Linked DNA regions of Homo sapiens: all the other regions are linked to region 5. Evidence: promoter capture Hi-C in human tissues and cell types (Jung and others, 2019). All regions are on one chromosome and are shown on one strand. The core of a region is centred on a gene start or on the middle of the fragment in contact, and the rest is flanking DNA. Distances in the headings are between cores, read along the strand shown. Region 1 overlaps IQGAP1 (IQ motif containing GTPase activating protein 1). Region 2 overlaps WDR93 (WD repeat domain 93). Region 3 has its middle 5.3 kb from the start of IQGAP1. Region 4 overlaps CRTC3 (CREB regulated transcription coactivator 3). Region 5 holds the start of IDH2 (isocitrate dehydrogenase (NADP(+)) 2).

Region 1 (2,700 bases), core at 144-2,643, 360 kb after region 5:
TTCACCAAAACTTACAGAGCCCACACGAGTGTCAGTGTGCAAAAAGCTCCAATACACTAAAGCCTTGGTCTGTTTTTATACGTCTGGCTACTCAGAATTAAAAATTTCTTTTAGCCCTTCCGCTTGCTGCCTCACTTCAGGAGTCTTCTGAAGGCTATGGTTCTATCCAGTTGTTGTTACTTAGTAAGCACTGAAAAGGAGGTCAATCACAATTAGAAAACAGATGTTAATTATGCTTTAATCAACAATTATTTGAGGGCCTACTACATACAAGGCAACTTCCTAGACAGCAACAGCATAAAAAGAGGCATAAACCTTGTCAATTTCCTCAGCAAACTAGGTAGCGGGTAAGACAAACATTTTAAAAGATGAGTTTATGTTACAATTACTTTAACAACTTTATCTTCATAGTAGCATTATTCCTGATAGCCACAGTGGAAAAAAACAGTATGTCTATCAAGTCAGGAATAGATAAAGTGTAAATAATTCAAAAGGCTGTGTGTGCGTTTTGTTTGGGTCATCGGAGTAAAACTTTTTGAGGATGTGACTATAGAGTTTGAAGCATTTCCTTTGCTGTGGAATAACTTTTCAGACTTCATCAAAGGCGGAGGAAGTCGGGGGAGTTAAAGGAAAAATTGCTTAACATTGCCAGGCCCAGCTGGGTGAACTACACATTGGGTGGAATTGTTTTTTGTTTGTTTGTTTTTGGTTTGGGTTTTTTGTTTTGTTTTGTTTTGTTTTTTGTTTTTGGCATCACCTGAGCATCTAAGTCTCCATCAGCCATTTGGGAGTGTTTTTAAAAATATTTATCACTGAGTTACAAATTTAGAGAGCAAAAGATCTTAATTTAAATTTGGTCTGTAGTTTTATTTTCTTCTGATATCTTTGTGTTTGGTTTTGGTATCAGGGTAATACTGGCCTCATGACTTGAAGTGTTCCTTTTATATTTTCAAAGAGTTTGTAAAGGATTAGCTAGTTCTTTAAACATTTGTTACAAGTCACCAGTGAGGCCACGTGGTCCGGAGTTTTTTGTGTGGGGGATATTTTTTGTTTTGTTTTGAGCTGCAGTACTGTGTAGGAAAGGGGTCCCGATGCAGACCCCAAGAGATGGTTCTTGGATCTCACACAAGAAAGAATTCAGAGAGAGTCCATAGAGTGAAGTGGAAGCAAGTTTATTAAGAAAGTAAAGGAATAAAAGAATGGCTTCTCCATAGACAGAGCAGCCCTGAGGGCCGCTGGTTGCCCATTTTATATTTCATGATGATATGCTAAACAAGAGCTTTATCAGATCTTTTCTGAGCATGTGCACAGCCCACACATGCACTGTGGCCTCCTAGATCCCATCCAGGAATATGTCAAGTTGTCAGAGCTCTCCATGAACATCTCATTCTCCAGCTTTTCCTTATAAGGTTTTTAGTTAGTCTCTTGTTTGCCTAAACTGTTATCCTTAATGTTTTTGACAATTGCTTTTGGAGAAAAGGCTGTTTGCAGTGGATGAGCTCTTGGTCAGGTCAAATAAAGACAGCCATGCGAGTGTGACCTCTGAACAGGTCAGCTAATGACAGTTCTTTGGGAATGGGGCTTTGAAGGGATGGTAGGAGGGGCAGATTGGAATAGGGGAGTTTAAAGCACCACAGAACTCACTGTTCTTACTGAGTTTCAGCTGTTTTTCTTGAATGCATTCTCCAATTTCTGCAAGCCTTTGGTTAATTTCTACCGTATTGAAAAAACTGGCCGGGTGCAGTGGCTCATGCTTGTAATCCCAGCACGTTGGGATGCCAAGGCGGGTGGATAGTTTGAGCCCAGGAATTTGAGACCAGGCTGGGCAAGATGGTAAAACCCTGTCTTAACGAAAAATAAAAATATTAGCTGGACACGGTGGTGTGCACCTGTGGTCCCAGGCACTTGGGAGGTTGAGATGGAAGGATCACTTGGGCCTAGGGGGCTGAGGTTGCGGTGAGCCAAGATTGCACCACTGCACTCCAGCCTGAGTGACAAAGCAAGACCCTGTCTTTAAAAAAAAAAAAAAAAAAAAAAAAGGGCTGGGCGCAGTGCCTCATCCCTGTAATCCCAGCACTTTGGGAGTCCCAGGTGGGCAGATCACCTGTGGTCAGGAGTTCGAGACCAGCCTGGCCAACATGGTGAAACTCCATCTCTACTAAAAATACAAAAAATTAGCCAGGCGTGGTGGCAGGCACCTGTAATCGCAGCTACCCAGGAGGCTGAGGCAGGAGAATCACTTGAACCCAGGAGGTGGAGGTTGCAATGAGCACCACTGCACTCCAGCTTGGGTGACAAGAGTGAAACTCCGTCTCAAAAAAAGAAAAACTGATGCTGGTGATTGTTTGCCAGTGTACCAATGTTTTTTGTTTGTTTGTTTTTCATGGTGGAGAGGATTTTCAGAGGTCTTTACCATTTTCACTAATGTCACGTTTCTCTTCATTAAATTTAGTGTTTGTGGGACTCTTGATAAAAGTGGATTACTAGTCGTGAGTAGTACAGTCTGAATGCAAGACATGGATATCAGGGCTCCTCAAGAACTCATTTTATAATTAAGAATATGAATGACTTAGGCCGTGTGTGGTGGCTTACGCCTATAATCCCGGCACTTTGGGAGGTCAAGGCAGGCGGATCACTTGAGGTCAGGAGTTTGAGACCAGCCTGGCTGACATGGCGAAACTCCATCTCTACTAAAAATAC
Region 2 (2,700 bases), core at 69-2,568, 370 kb before region 5:
CCCGAGTCTGCTCTTTAAGGACATCTTCCCCAAAACAGAAGTGGCTCTCCAAAAGACAGCTGTCTCTGGCAAGAGCTCTGCACACCACACTGGCCTAGGAGTGATTCCCAGCCCCACCCAACCTGCCCTCACCAGCATCCAAGGTCAGCGCATCCCACCAGGACCAGCACCTAGAATGTGATGTGCTTCATGGCCTTCTTACCCCTGGGAAGGTCCATTCTAACTATCTATTCTGGTTTTAGGACCAAGACTCTGCCAGCAGCTCTCCTTGCCAGGGAGTCTACATGGCTCTGACTCGTGTGTCTTTCTTTCCCAGTACGGCCACCTTCTATTTCCTTCTTCCTAGCTGCCTATTTGCAATGCCACCGGAAGTCAAGGGCCCCTCAGGTAAATGAACATGAAGTGGGTGGTTGTCCTAGCAAGGAGTCACCTTGGGGAAACCCCTCAGCAAGCCCCCACAGAGATGTTCCCCAACAAACCTCGCATGGTAGGAGGGAATGAAGAGGGGAGTTTGGTTGCCAGCTGTAGCCTGTCAGTTTCTGCTTGCATCTGTGGCCCCTGAGCACAGGTTCTCTGATCACAAAGGCTGGCACTGCCTTCAGGGAGTGGTTGCCATAGGAGAAGGCATGAGCCCACATCCACCGGGCTGCTTCTGGATATGAGTTTGTCTTGTAGAAGATGTTACTTAAAACACTGAGGGTGTGAATTTTCTAGATGTGAAAGCAGCCGAGGGGGAGTTGAGACTGTCCTCCCTATGCAAGAAGGCGGGTGGGCCCCAGGAACAGCCCTCATGGGGCTGCCCAGTCCCTCTCTCTTGGGAAACTCACCCTTCTCTTGGGTGCTGCCCATTAAAACAAACCACTTCAGACTTCAAACCAGCTTCTCTTGGGCAAACACCTTCTGTGCAAACCAAAGGCCACCCAGATTTCCCCCTGTGTAACACCCATTTTCTGTCTTTCCCCCGCCCCCCCACCAGGAATGGCCTGTGTCCTTGGTATACACTGGACCAGAAGTCACAATTTCTTCCTGTATTCACTAAACCGAACTCTAAAGGATAAAGCTGGTACTTTACTGCTGAGATGGGAGTCGCCTAAGCTCAGGACTTGCAGACATGTCCTTCTCCAGCTTAGCTAAGAGCATGTGACTGACATACATCAAGTGTCACTTTAGGGACCAGATCTAGGCAGGCAGTAGGGGGTTTGGTGGGTGTAGTGTGACCGCAAGAATCTGTCTCTGAAATGTCATGTTCCTTAAAGACAACAGGTCAATAGGGACAAAGTCTACAGTCAGGTCCACAGGGCTCCTTAAGCAGCTAAGGTAAAAAGAGAGTAAGCTTGGCTGGGCGCAATGGCTCACGCCTATAATCCCAGCACTTTGGGAGGCCGAGGCGAGTGGATCACCTGAGGTCAGGAGTTCAAGACCAGCCTGGCCAACATGGTGAAACCCCATCTCTACTAAAAATACAAAAATTAGCCGGATATGGTGGCATGCGCCTGTAATCTCAGCTACTTGGGAGTCTGAGGCAGGAGAATCACATGAACCTGGGAGGCAGAGGTTGCAGTGAGCCAAGATCACACCACTGCACTCCAGCCTGGGTGACAGAGCAAGACTATCTCAAAAAAAAAAAAAAAAAAAAAGAGAGAGATTGAGAAAGTAGGCTTGGAATCAGAAGGTCAGTGCTAATCCTAGCCCAGCTGTCTGCAAACCATGTAGTCTCAGGCCAGTCGCTTCACACCCCAACCCACTTTTCATGCAGAACATAGAGCTAATTAATTACACCATTGTTGTCTAGTGCATGCGTTTGTTGAAAATAGCAAAATCCAGAGAGTTTCTGTATGTGAAGCTCTTCGAAATTGAAACGCACTAAGGAAATATAGGTTGTTGTTGTTTTACAAATTTATGGAGGTGACCAGGTGTGGTGGCTCATGCCTGTAATCCCAGTACTTTGGGAGGCAGAGGCAGGTGGATCTCTTGAGCCCAGGAGTTTGAAACCAGTCTGGGCAACATAGGAGACCCTGTTTCTACAAAAAATAGCCAAGCGTGGCAGCATGAGCCTGTAGTCCCAACTACTCAGGAGGCTGGGCCAGGAGGATCACTTGAGCCCAGGAGTTTGAGGCTGCAGTGAGCCAAGGTTGCACCACTGCACTCCAGCCTGGGTGACAGTGAGGCCCTGTCTCAAAAAAAAAAAAATTAATGGAAGCAGTCACATGAGCAAGTTTGCTTTGTGATAATTCCTTGAACTGTACACTTGTTATACTTTATATTACACTTCAAAAGTAACATTAAAAAATTCACAAAGGAGGAGTTTCTTTTCTTCCGTCCCTTTCCCAGGCAACCTGGCTTCTAATCTCCTTCTATACTGACTGTATGGCCTTGAGCAAGTCACTTCTCTGCCTCATCTATAAAATGGGGATACTAATAAGACTACTTTATAGAACCCTTGTGAGAATGCAATGAAATTATGTGTGTAAAGTGCCTAACACAGTATCTAGCACCTAGGACATACTCATTAAACATTAGCTGTAGAGTAATAATAAACAGTGTGACATTATCTTATCATCCTAGGCAAGGAGAATAGCACTTCATAAAGAGAAGGATGATGGTGAGTCCAGACAGGTGCTCCTGGTTCCCATTCCCTGAACAGGCAGACCAGTCTGAGTCACAGGTTGTCCAGGTAGAAGTGATGGGTAGGTGCAGAGT
Region 3 (2,700 bases), core at 101-2,600, 280 kb after region 5:
CTATCCTGATTTCAGAGGCATTTAAATATAAAAAAAATTGGGACTTATTTCTTGAAAATGTTGTACTTACTAGACAGTAAGACTTATTTCTGAAGATACCTGGTTTCTAAAAGTACTACTGGGAAATATAATAAATGAGGAAGTGATTAATTTTGCCTGGGGAGTAGGTGACATTTGAATTGGGTCTGGGAGGTTCAGTAGGAGTTTCCCAGGCAGATAATAGGCTAAAAGGTATTCCAAGCAAGGGAAACTTCTATTATGGTGCTTATCTCAAGATATCCTGTTAATATTGCTTGACTCCTCCTGGCTTGTAAATTCTTTGTGGTCATTAACCAATTTTGACTCCCAAAATGACCATTTACCTCATTATTTTGCCGTTTATTCATTTCATATTTACTAATTTTATTCATATTTATATTTGCTGACAAAATAGTATTTCCAGCAGCTCATTTTAAATACAGACAAGCAAGCAAGCAAACCCCACACAAATCCAGTGTAATAGCACTGCCTGGAGAAGCCACTGTTAATATATTGGTGTATATACTTCAAGGCTTTATCTATTCATATGCACATATCCATCAATGTATCTATCTATCTAGCTACATTTAAAACAAAATGGTATCATATTTATTAGTCATAATTTGATATATTAACTTAACCACAATATTAAAATATTGTACTGCCAGCCTGTACATTTTTTGCCTGCCCAGCCTCCCACTGAAGGAAATTATGCCCAGCTCATAGTTCTCTATGCTTAATTATCTGTATCTCCTGATCATAGTTGATTGAAGTAAAGGATCAGCATCCAATCTAAGGGCAGCCTGCCTGTGGGTGGTCAGAGATTTACCCACAGGGTGGAAAGCTGAGCTGGGTCAATCATATGCCACTCTATGGGTTATGGAGTTAGGCAATTGAGATGATCCTCAATGGAGCTGATGATGTAAGGATACCATGACCTTCAGTCAAAGCCATGGCAAGGCAAGCAGAAACAAGAGTTGTGAGGGAACAGAAAAAATTAAATGGAGTAAGCTGGTTAGCAAAGAGTGGAGAGTAGAGCCAGCCTGTGGAAAAGCAGAGATGCCCAGAGAATGAAACCATGACTTCAAGCTTTCATTAGTCCTGTTTTTTTTTGTTTAGTGTAGTTTTGTTTTTGGTGCAGTTCCAGTCCATATAGGTCTGTATAAGAAAGGCCTCCCTTCCAGCCTTTTTTCCTCTAGAAGTAAAACTGTGCATGTCTGTTTCCTGTAGCCAGTCAAGCCTGACCAGACCACAGATCATCACTGTTCATGGCTATATGGCATTCTATTGTGTATAGCTGCCATCACTGATTTAAACACCTACTGATGGACATTTGAGTAATTTCCAAGGAGCATCTTCATGGATAACTTTTGCACATTTAATAAAAGCACGATATCCTTATGATACATTCCAAGAAGTGAAGTTTTTTGGTTGAAGAATAGATGCATAATGATAAGCTGGTCTTTAGAAAGACTATATTAATTTATTGCCTACTAACATTGCATAAGAGTGGTTGCTTTTTCACCCCCTTGCCAATAATATCAATTAAAAAGACAAACCAAAATGTTGCTACATATGATAGGCAAGAAGTGATATGTGGCATGTTATCTTTTCTATTTTTTTTTTTTTTGGTGATGGGTCTCACTCTGTCTACCTGGGCAGGAGCACAGTGGCGGGATCACAGCTCACTGCAGCCTCAACTCCCAGGCTCAAGCGATCCTCCCACCTCAGCCTTTTGGGTAGCATGCCACCACGCTGGGCTAATTTTTTGTATTTTCTGTAGAGACGGGGTTTTTCATTTTGCCCAGGCTGGTCTTGAACTCCTGGCCTCAAGCAATCCTCTCTCCTCTGCTTCCCAAAGTGCTGGGGGGTATAGGTGTGAGCCGTTGTGCCTGGCCAGCATGTTATTATCTTAATGTCTATTTCTCTGAATCTTGAGTTTATTGACTAGGAATTGGGCTTTGTCATTAGACAGGCCTGGGTTTGAGTTCCAGCTCTGCCTCTTGCTGTGTGGCTTCAGGTAAGTAACCCAGTTCTCCATTTTCCCAAGTGTAAAATGGACATAATGGGATTATTACAAGGATCAGCTGAGAAAATAAATGTGCAACACTTAGTATAGTAAGGTACCAGTGCAGTTGGTAACTTAACATCTCTGTGGCTTTCACCTCAGACAAACTTTGTAATTAAGTAAAGAAAGCCTTTATGGAATGAACAATTGGATTAATATGTTGGAGTTAAGAAGAAATATTTCGGCTGGGCATGGTGGCTCATGCCTATAACCCCAGCACATTGGGAGGCCAAGGTGGGCAGATCACTTGAGGTCAAGAGTTCGAGACCAGCCTGGCCAACATGGCAAAACCTCACCTCCAGTAAAAATACAAAAATTAGCCGGGTGTGGTCGTGTGCGCCTGTAAGCCCAGCTACTCAGGAGGCTGAGGCAGGATAATCACTTGAACTTGGGAGGCTGAGGTTGCAGTGAGCCGAAATCACGCCACTGCACTCCAGCCTGGGTGACAGAGTGAAACTCTGTCTCAAAAAAAAAAAAAAAAAAAGAAGAAGAAGAAGAAATATTTCACATTTTATGTATTCGCAATGTTTAAGAAAATTTGGCCGACTTGAATGACAGCTTTTTTGTAAATCATTTTAAATGTGTAATTGAGTTAGTTTTAGACTTAGGTTTTT
Region 4 (2,700 bases), core at 28-2,527, 500 kb after region 5:
AAGATGGCAGTGTACTGAGAAAAATGGTAAACTTCTACTTCCTGAAATTAAGCGTTTCTGAACAGAGATTCATCAAATCTGCAGAAAAGAGAAAGGCAGATAACCGTAGGTTCTGAGGCTCGGTGTTTCCTCCCTAATGGCTTTGCCAACAGAAATACTGACAGGTTTTGTCTGTCACGGGCCTTACTATTTATCACCTTTTCCTCTCCTACCTCCTACTGTGGTCTTGCCTCATCTGTACTTCATGTACCTTAAGCCTAATAGTGAATGTTGAAGAAATGTCTCTCTTTGGAAATTATCTGTTTTATTTTATTGATTTAAGGTCAAATTAAGAAATAAGATAATGAGACTTGTCAAAGAAAACGAATACATAGAAGATGAAACTTGCAATCCTAATGCCTCTCCTGGCAAAGAAGACATTTCCCACCAAATCACTAAGAACTCATGAGAGCCTCCGTTTTCCTAATTCCAGATTCTGTATTTATTTGAGCTGCCCAGCCCAGGCCTGCAGGATAGGGCCCCACTCCATCAAGGCTCCTGTTTCCTCCTGAGCCCGAGCAGATGGTACCTTCTCTTATAGCCTCCATCCTTCCCAGAACACTCCAGGTACTATTTTCTATTTTCTGGGGGCATTTGGCATAGTTCACTGTTTCCTGAGAGGCAGCATAGCTTAGCGGAGAGCTCTCAGGCTTTGGTGTCAGTGATTTGTGGGTCTGACCCCTGATCCACCAGGCGTGCTATCTGATCTTGGATTTCTCAGCTCTTCTAGAACTGAGCCTCAGTTTCTTCAGCTATAAAATGGGGAAAATATCTGCCTCTCAGGATTGAGGTTAAATAAAGTGTGAACTCAGCACAGGCCTGGCACACAGTAGGTGCTTAGATATCTGTTTTCAAATTTCTGTCTTAATGTGTAGTTTGTATCTTCTTTATTATTTCCACCTTAAGAAATAAAAGTTTGGGATGAAAAGTATTATTGGTAACTGCCGAATGTATATTTAATCCAATCAGTGATCCAGGAGACAAAAGGAATGGGCTTGGTTTGGGTGAGTGATAAGGAGGCAACCTTCCACATAGGAGGTGAGAAAGGGGAAATGGCCTTAGCAAAGGCAGAGGGGCAGGAAAATACAGGCTGTGTTTGTGGAACTCAGAAAGCTGGAGGGAAGACAAGAGCAGAAGAGACCATTGTCCCCAAATTGTGGATCACCGCAATTACTAAGCCAGTAAGTTTTGATTTTGCCTTTTAGGCTGAACAAAATCATTGAAGATTTCTTAGCAGAATAATATGATTAACAGTGTCTTCAGAAGGCTATTGTGTGGGAACAATTAACTAAACGAATGAAAACAGCGCCCCTCTGCTCGGTGTGTAGTGCAGCATCCCATTTGTGTCTCCGTGCGTCCAGAATATGCTCCAAGGCATGGTAGACCCAGTGAACAACACAAGACTGATAAGACAGTGCCCCCAACAACACTGGAAAGTTTACCTTTCTTCACACATCTAATGCGCCTCTTTTTTGGTTATAAATACCAGGAACCGCCGGGCGCAGTGGCTCACACCTCTAATCCCAGCAATTTGGGAGGCCGAGGTGGGTGGATCACCTGAGGTCAGGAGTTCAAGACCAGCCTGGCCAACGTGGAGAAACCCTGTCTCTAATTAAAAAAAATACAAAATTAGCCGGGTGTGGTGGCGCATGCCTGTAATCCCAGCTACTCGGGAGGCTGAGGCAGGAGAATTGCTTGAACCTGGGAGGTGGAGGTTGCAGTGAGCCGAGATTGCGCCATTGCACTCCAGCCTGGGCCAAAAAAAAGAGTGAAACTCCGTCTCAAAAAATAAATAAGTACCAGGAACCCACCTTAACTTAAAAAAAGAAAATGTATTGGCATATGTCACTGGAAGCCCAAGGGCTAGATCCAAGGGGTCATACAATGTCATTGAGACCTACCTCTGTGGTACCACTTCTGAGATGACTTCAGGCATAACAGACAGGCTTTCTCCAAGGTGAAGACCCCCAGGTTCAGACGGCCCTTGGGCTTACCAGCCCTATTGGGGCACTCCTTTTTTTTCCACTCAAAAGCACTCTCCTTGGTTCTGTTTGCGTCGTGAGCCGATCCCTGAGCCAAACACTGTTTCCAGGGGGTGAGGTACCTAGACTAGAATCCTGGGCCTGGGTCCCTCACATGTGGCACAGAGGGAATGGCAGTGTTACCAGGTTTGGAGCAAGAGTGGAGACAGTTCCTGAAAACAAAAGTTGCCGGACAGGCAAAAAATAATAAACACCCCACAAAAAATCATGCAAAGAAAACACCGGTTAGAAGACAGCAGAATAGACTTGTCCTCAAGGAGGGAGATAAGAGAAAGCATGAAGGAAGAGCTGTCAGGTACAGGGATAAGGAACCAAAAACTCAGTTGTTTAACTCTCTGTGAGTCCACCTTGTTAATTCTGCTTCATCTTTCCATTAATTTTTATTTTTCCTTTATTAAAAATTCTACTTTGATGGTAGTGCTTTTGGAGCCAATTATTCCTCACAGCCTCTGGATGAGAGTTGGCCAAGGTAAGCAAGACATACTTTAAAAGATATGATGGGCATGTGTTATTTTTAGATAATTTCACTTTATCCACTTTGAATGTTGTTTAGAAATTTCTAATATAAAGCATAGAATCCTGTTTTCTCTTATAACATTTAATTTCAGTGGGAGGATCA
Region 5 (2,700 bases), core at 26-2,525:
GCTCCCACAATCCGGTTAACCATTACCTCCTCTGGCCAGGTCAGGGCCAGCGGGCCCCATCCCCTCTTCCTCACTCTCCTGGCTCACTGCAAGGGGCTCCTGGCCAGATTAGGATAGGGGTTTCCATGGCAACAGGCATTAGGCAGGGCCAAGGGACCTACATTGTTCCCTGCCTTTTGTAGCTGTGTTGGGTAGCCAGGGTGAGGGGGCAGGCCGATGCCCACACGCCAAGCAAGGCAGCCTGCGTTGGCAACGGAGGCTCGGGCTAAGTCTTGCTTATTACGACCCGACTACTGTCTTCCCTCCTAAGCAGGGAACTAAGGGTACCCAGAAGCCGTGGGAACGATTCCGCAAAGTGACATTTTGCGCGGGCTGCCAGGTCTCTGCGGCGAGTGAGCCAGGCAGGGAGGGCATGTGCCTGCCAAGGCAGGTCAAGTCAAGGAGAGGCCCCAGGATGGAGCCTCAAGTGCAGCGATGAAGGCGAAGGGGTGGGGGTGGGGGCGGCCAAACAAAAGGGGAAAATTAAAAAGGACGCTCCTCCAGCTGTCGTGTAAAAGGCTCCAAAAATAGCTGACGTGGGCCTGGTATCAGCGCGCGCCTGGCTGAAAAGGAAGGGGAAGTGCATGTCTCCCGCCTCCCAGCCTTTGTCTGAGCAGGGGCCGAGCCACGACCCTCCCTCTCGCCAGGGGAGCGCGCGGGGTGCTCCAGCCCCCCACGGGTGCTCGTCTCGTTCCAGGGGCGCAGGGCGGGCAGGCCACCCTTCGGGTCCGGGACACTCTCAGGACCCCCTCCCGAAATACCTAGGGGCGCGCGGCAGCCCCGAGCCCCCGCCCGCGCAGAGCTGGCCGTCGCCCGGGCCACCAGTTGCCACCGTCCCTCAAGTCCCCACCCCAGCGCCTGGCACGGCCGGGAAGCGCCGGGCGGGGGAGCGCGGAGCGAAGCTGCCCCGCGGCCCTTTGTGCGCCTGACCCCGCCGTCCCCGGGCTGCGGGCTGGCGGGACGTGCTTCCCGGCCCCAGCCTGGGAAGCCGCCACGTCGCAGCTGGGGGCGCGCGCCTGCCTGGACCCTCCGCGCGGCACTCACAGTGGCGCCGCGGCTGCTCTTGCGAGGTGGGGGCTGTCAGGGCCGCCGGCGCCCAGGCCGGCCGCGAGCCTGAGGCTCTGCAGAGCGAGCGCACGACCCGCAGGTAGCCGGCCATCCCAAGCTGGAGAGCGAACGAGCAGGGCGGGAGAGGTCCGAGCGCGCGCCGCTCCTCCCGGCTGCCTGGCCGCGGGCTAACGCTGGGCCTGGCGGGCGCTGGCCGCGCGGGCACCACCGGGGCGGGGCTGCCGGGCCTGCCGCCCCATTGGGCCTTGCCGGGGAGGAGGCGGGGCCAGGGCCGCCGACGCCTCCAGCGTCCCGCGGGAGCCGGGACCCGGCGGCCAGGCCCGGCTGGTGCTTCTCTGGGCGCCGCTGAAAGCCCAGCTCCGCAGGAGCTACAGGCGTGAGACCCACCGGGACCCGCGAGCGGGATCAGGGCTGGGGGATTAGCAGAGCCGCTTGCGAGGCTGACCCTCTCCAGGATGCCCCATGTAAACCTGGATGTCAGTTTCTGACGCTTTAGCTTAAACCCAAAAGCCAATCTGAGCGAACTCTTGCTTCCCTCGCCTGCCGGGCTGAACCCAAAGGCGCATTAGCCCAGTGCGGCTGCTTCATTCTTGAGCTAAGACCGCCGGCGGCGTCTGCGCCTCCGCGAGTCCGCTGTCAGGTCCAGCTGGTGTAGAGAGAGTTGAAATCTCACTTTGGGCCGGGCGCGGTGGCTCACGTCTGTAATCCTAGAACTTTTGGGAGGTCGAGGCAGGCGGATCACTTGAAGTCAGGAGTTCGAGACCAGGCTGGCTAACATAATGAAACCCCTGTCTCTACTAAAAATACAAAAATTGATCGGGCATGGTGGCGCGCGCCTGTAATCCCAGCTACTCAGGAGGCTGAGGCGGGAGAATCACTTGAACCTGAGAGGCAGAGATTGCAGTGAGCTGAGATCATGCCACTGCACTCCAGCCTGGGCAACAGAGTGAGACTCCGTCTCAAAAAAAAAAAAAAAAAACCACGAAAAAAGAAATATGATTGGACCAGAAGGCCAATAACCTGAGTGGGGAAACCCAGCAAGTCCTGTCCGTGTAGATTCTTCTTGACCTTTCTCTGCAGCATTCCTTCCTTCTGAGTACGGGGCAGGACTCTCTCTGGGATGGAGGGGTCTTAGGACCTGCAAGCAAACAAGGTAGGTCAGATAATTTATGGCCAGTTTTTACCCAGAAATGTGTGGGAGAAAGAGTAATATTTTTGGGTTCGATGTCTGGCTTTGGGGGAGAAGGGCTCTGGTTTCTATGACCTGCCTTGAGGAAGAAGGATTCCAGTTTCTATGGCTGGCCTCGGAGGAGAGTGAGGGGCCAAAGACAGGAGGGAGGGAGAGGGTCAGAGAGAGCTGCTCCTGAGGCCTGCATTTTGGGGTGTTGTTTTCTGAGACCCTAGAGTAGTCAAACAGCCACAGTAGAAACAGTTCCATTTTTGCCTGTTTGCATATAAAAGATGGGTTTGTTTGTTTGTTTTAATTAAAAATAGAGATGGGGGGATCTCACTATGTTGCCCAGGCTGGTCTCCAGCTCCTAAGCTTAAATGATCCTCCCGCCTCGGCCTCGCAAAGCACTGGGATTACAGGTG

Evidence for each region. The method cuts DNA at HindIII sites, captures the fragments that hold promoters and counts their contacts. A contact is called where the count stands out against the background at its distance.
Region 1: a contact is called between a fragment that was not itself captured here and the fragment with the promoter of IDH2 in region 5, in 2 of the 25 tissues and cell types used here (aorta and neural progenitor cells).
Region 2: a contact is called between a fragment that was not itself captured here and the fragment with the promoter of IDH2 in region 5, in 2 of the 25 tissues and cell types used here (mesendoderm cells and thymus).
Region 3: a fragment that was not itself captured here is called in contact with the fragment with the promoter of IDH2 in region 5 in 1 of the 25 tissues and cell types used here (H1 embryonic stem cells).
Region 4: a contact is called between a fragment that was not itself captured here and the fragment with the promoter of IDH2 in region 5, in 1 of the 25 tissues and cell types used here (bladder).

What each region holds. Positions count from the first base shown.
Region 1 is chr15:90,458,985-90,461,684 of GRCh38, forward strand. The region is part of intron 15 of IQGAP1 (IQ motif containing GTPase activating protein 1); the gene reads left to right. Among named protein-coding and RNA genes, the nearest start is that of CRTC3, 70 kb to the right of the region's middle. The HindIII fragment of the contact is 7,780 bases long and covers 1-2,700 here.
Region 2 is chr15:89,728,707-89,731,406 of GRCh38, forward strand. WDR93 (WD repeat domain 93) reads left to right here. Exons shown (of 17, transcript NM_020212.2): 10 at 317-387; 11 at 977-1,063. Among named protein-coding and RNA genes, the nearest start is that of MESP1, 21 kb to the right of the region's middle. The HindIII fragment of the contact is 4,492 bases long and covers 1-2,700 here.
Region 3 is chr15:90,381,550-90,384,249 of GRCh38, forward strand. No RefSeq gene overlaps it. Among named protein-coding and RNA genes, the nearest start is that of IQGAP1, 5.3 kb to the right of the region's middle. The HindIII fragment of the contact is 4,681 bases long and covers 1-2,700 here.
Region 4 is chr15:90,599,836-90,602,535 of GRCh38, forward strand. CRTC3 (CREB regulated transcription coactivator 3) reads left to right here. Exons shown (of 15, transcript NM_022769.5): 4 at 2,489-2,550. It overlaps LOC124903554 (a long non-coding RNA gene), which reads left to right. Exons shown (of 2, transcript XR_007064756.1): 2 at 473-970. Among named protein-coding and RNA genes, the nearest start is that of LINC01585, 59 kb to the right of the region's middle. The HindIII fragment of the contact is 8,040 bases long and covers 1-2,700 here.
Region 5 is chr15:90,101,193-90,103,892 of GRCh38, forward strand. It overlaps IDH2 (isocitrate dehydrogenase (NADP(+)) 2), which reads right to left and starts at 1,276. Exons shown (of 11, transcript NM_002168.4): 1 at 1,084-1,276. The coding sequence starts at 1,198. It overlaps IDH2-DT (IDH2 divergent transcript), which reads left to right and starts at 940. Exons shown (of 3, transcript NR_149130.1): 1 at 940-1,186; 2 at 2,188-2,260. RefSeq lists enhancers at 1-557, 558-1,412 and silencers at 57-146, 637-706, 1,027-1,486. The HindIII fragment of the contact is 13,716 bases long and covers 1-2,700 here.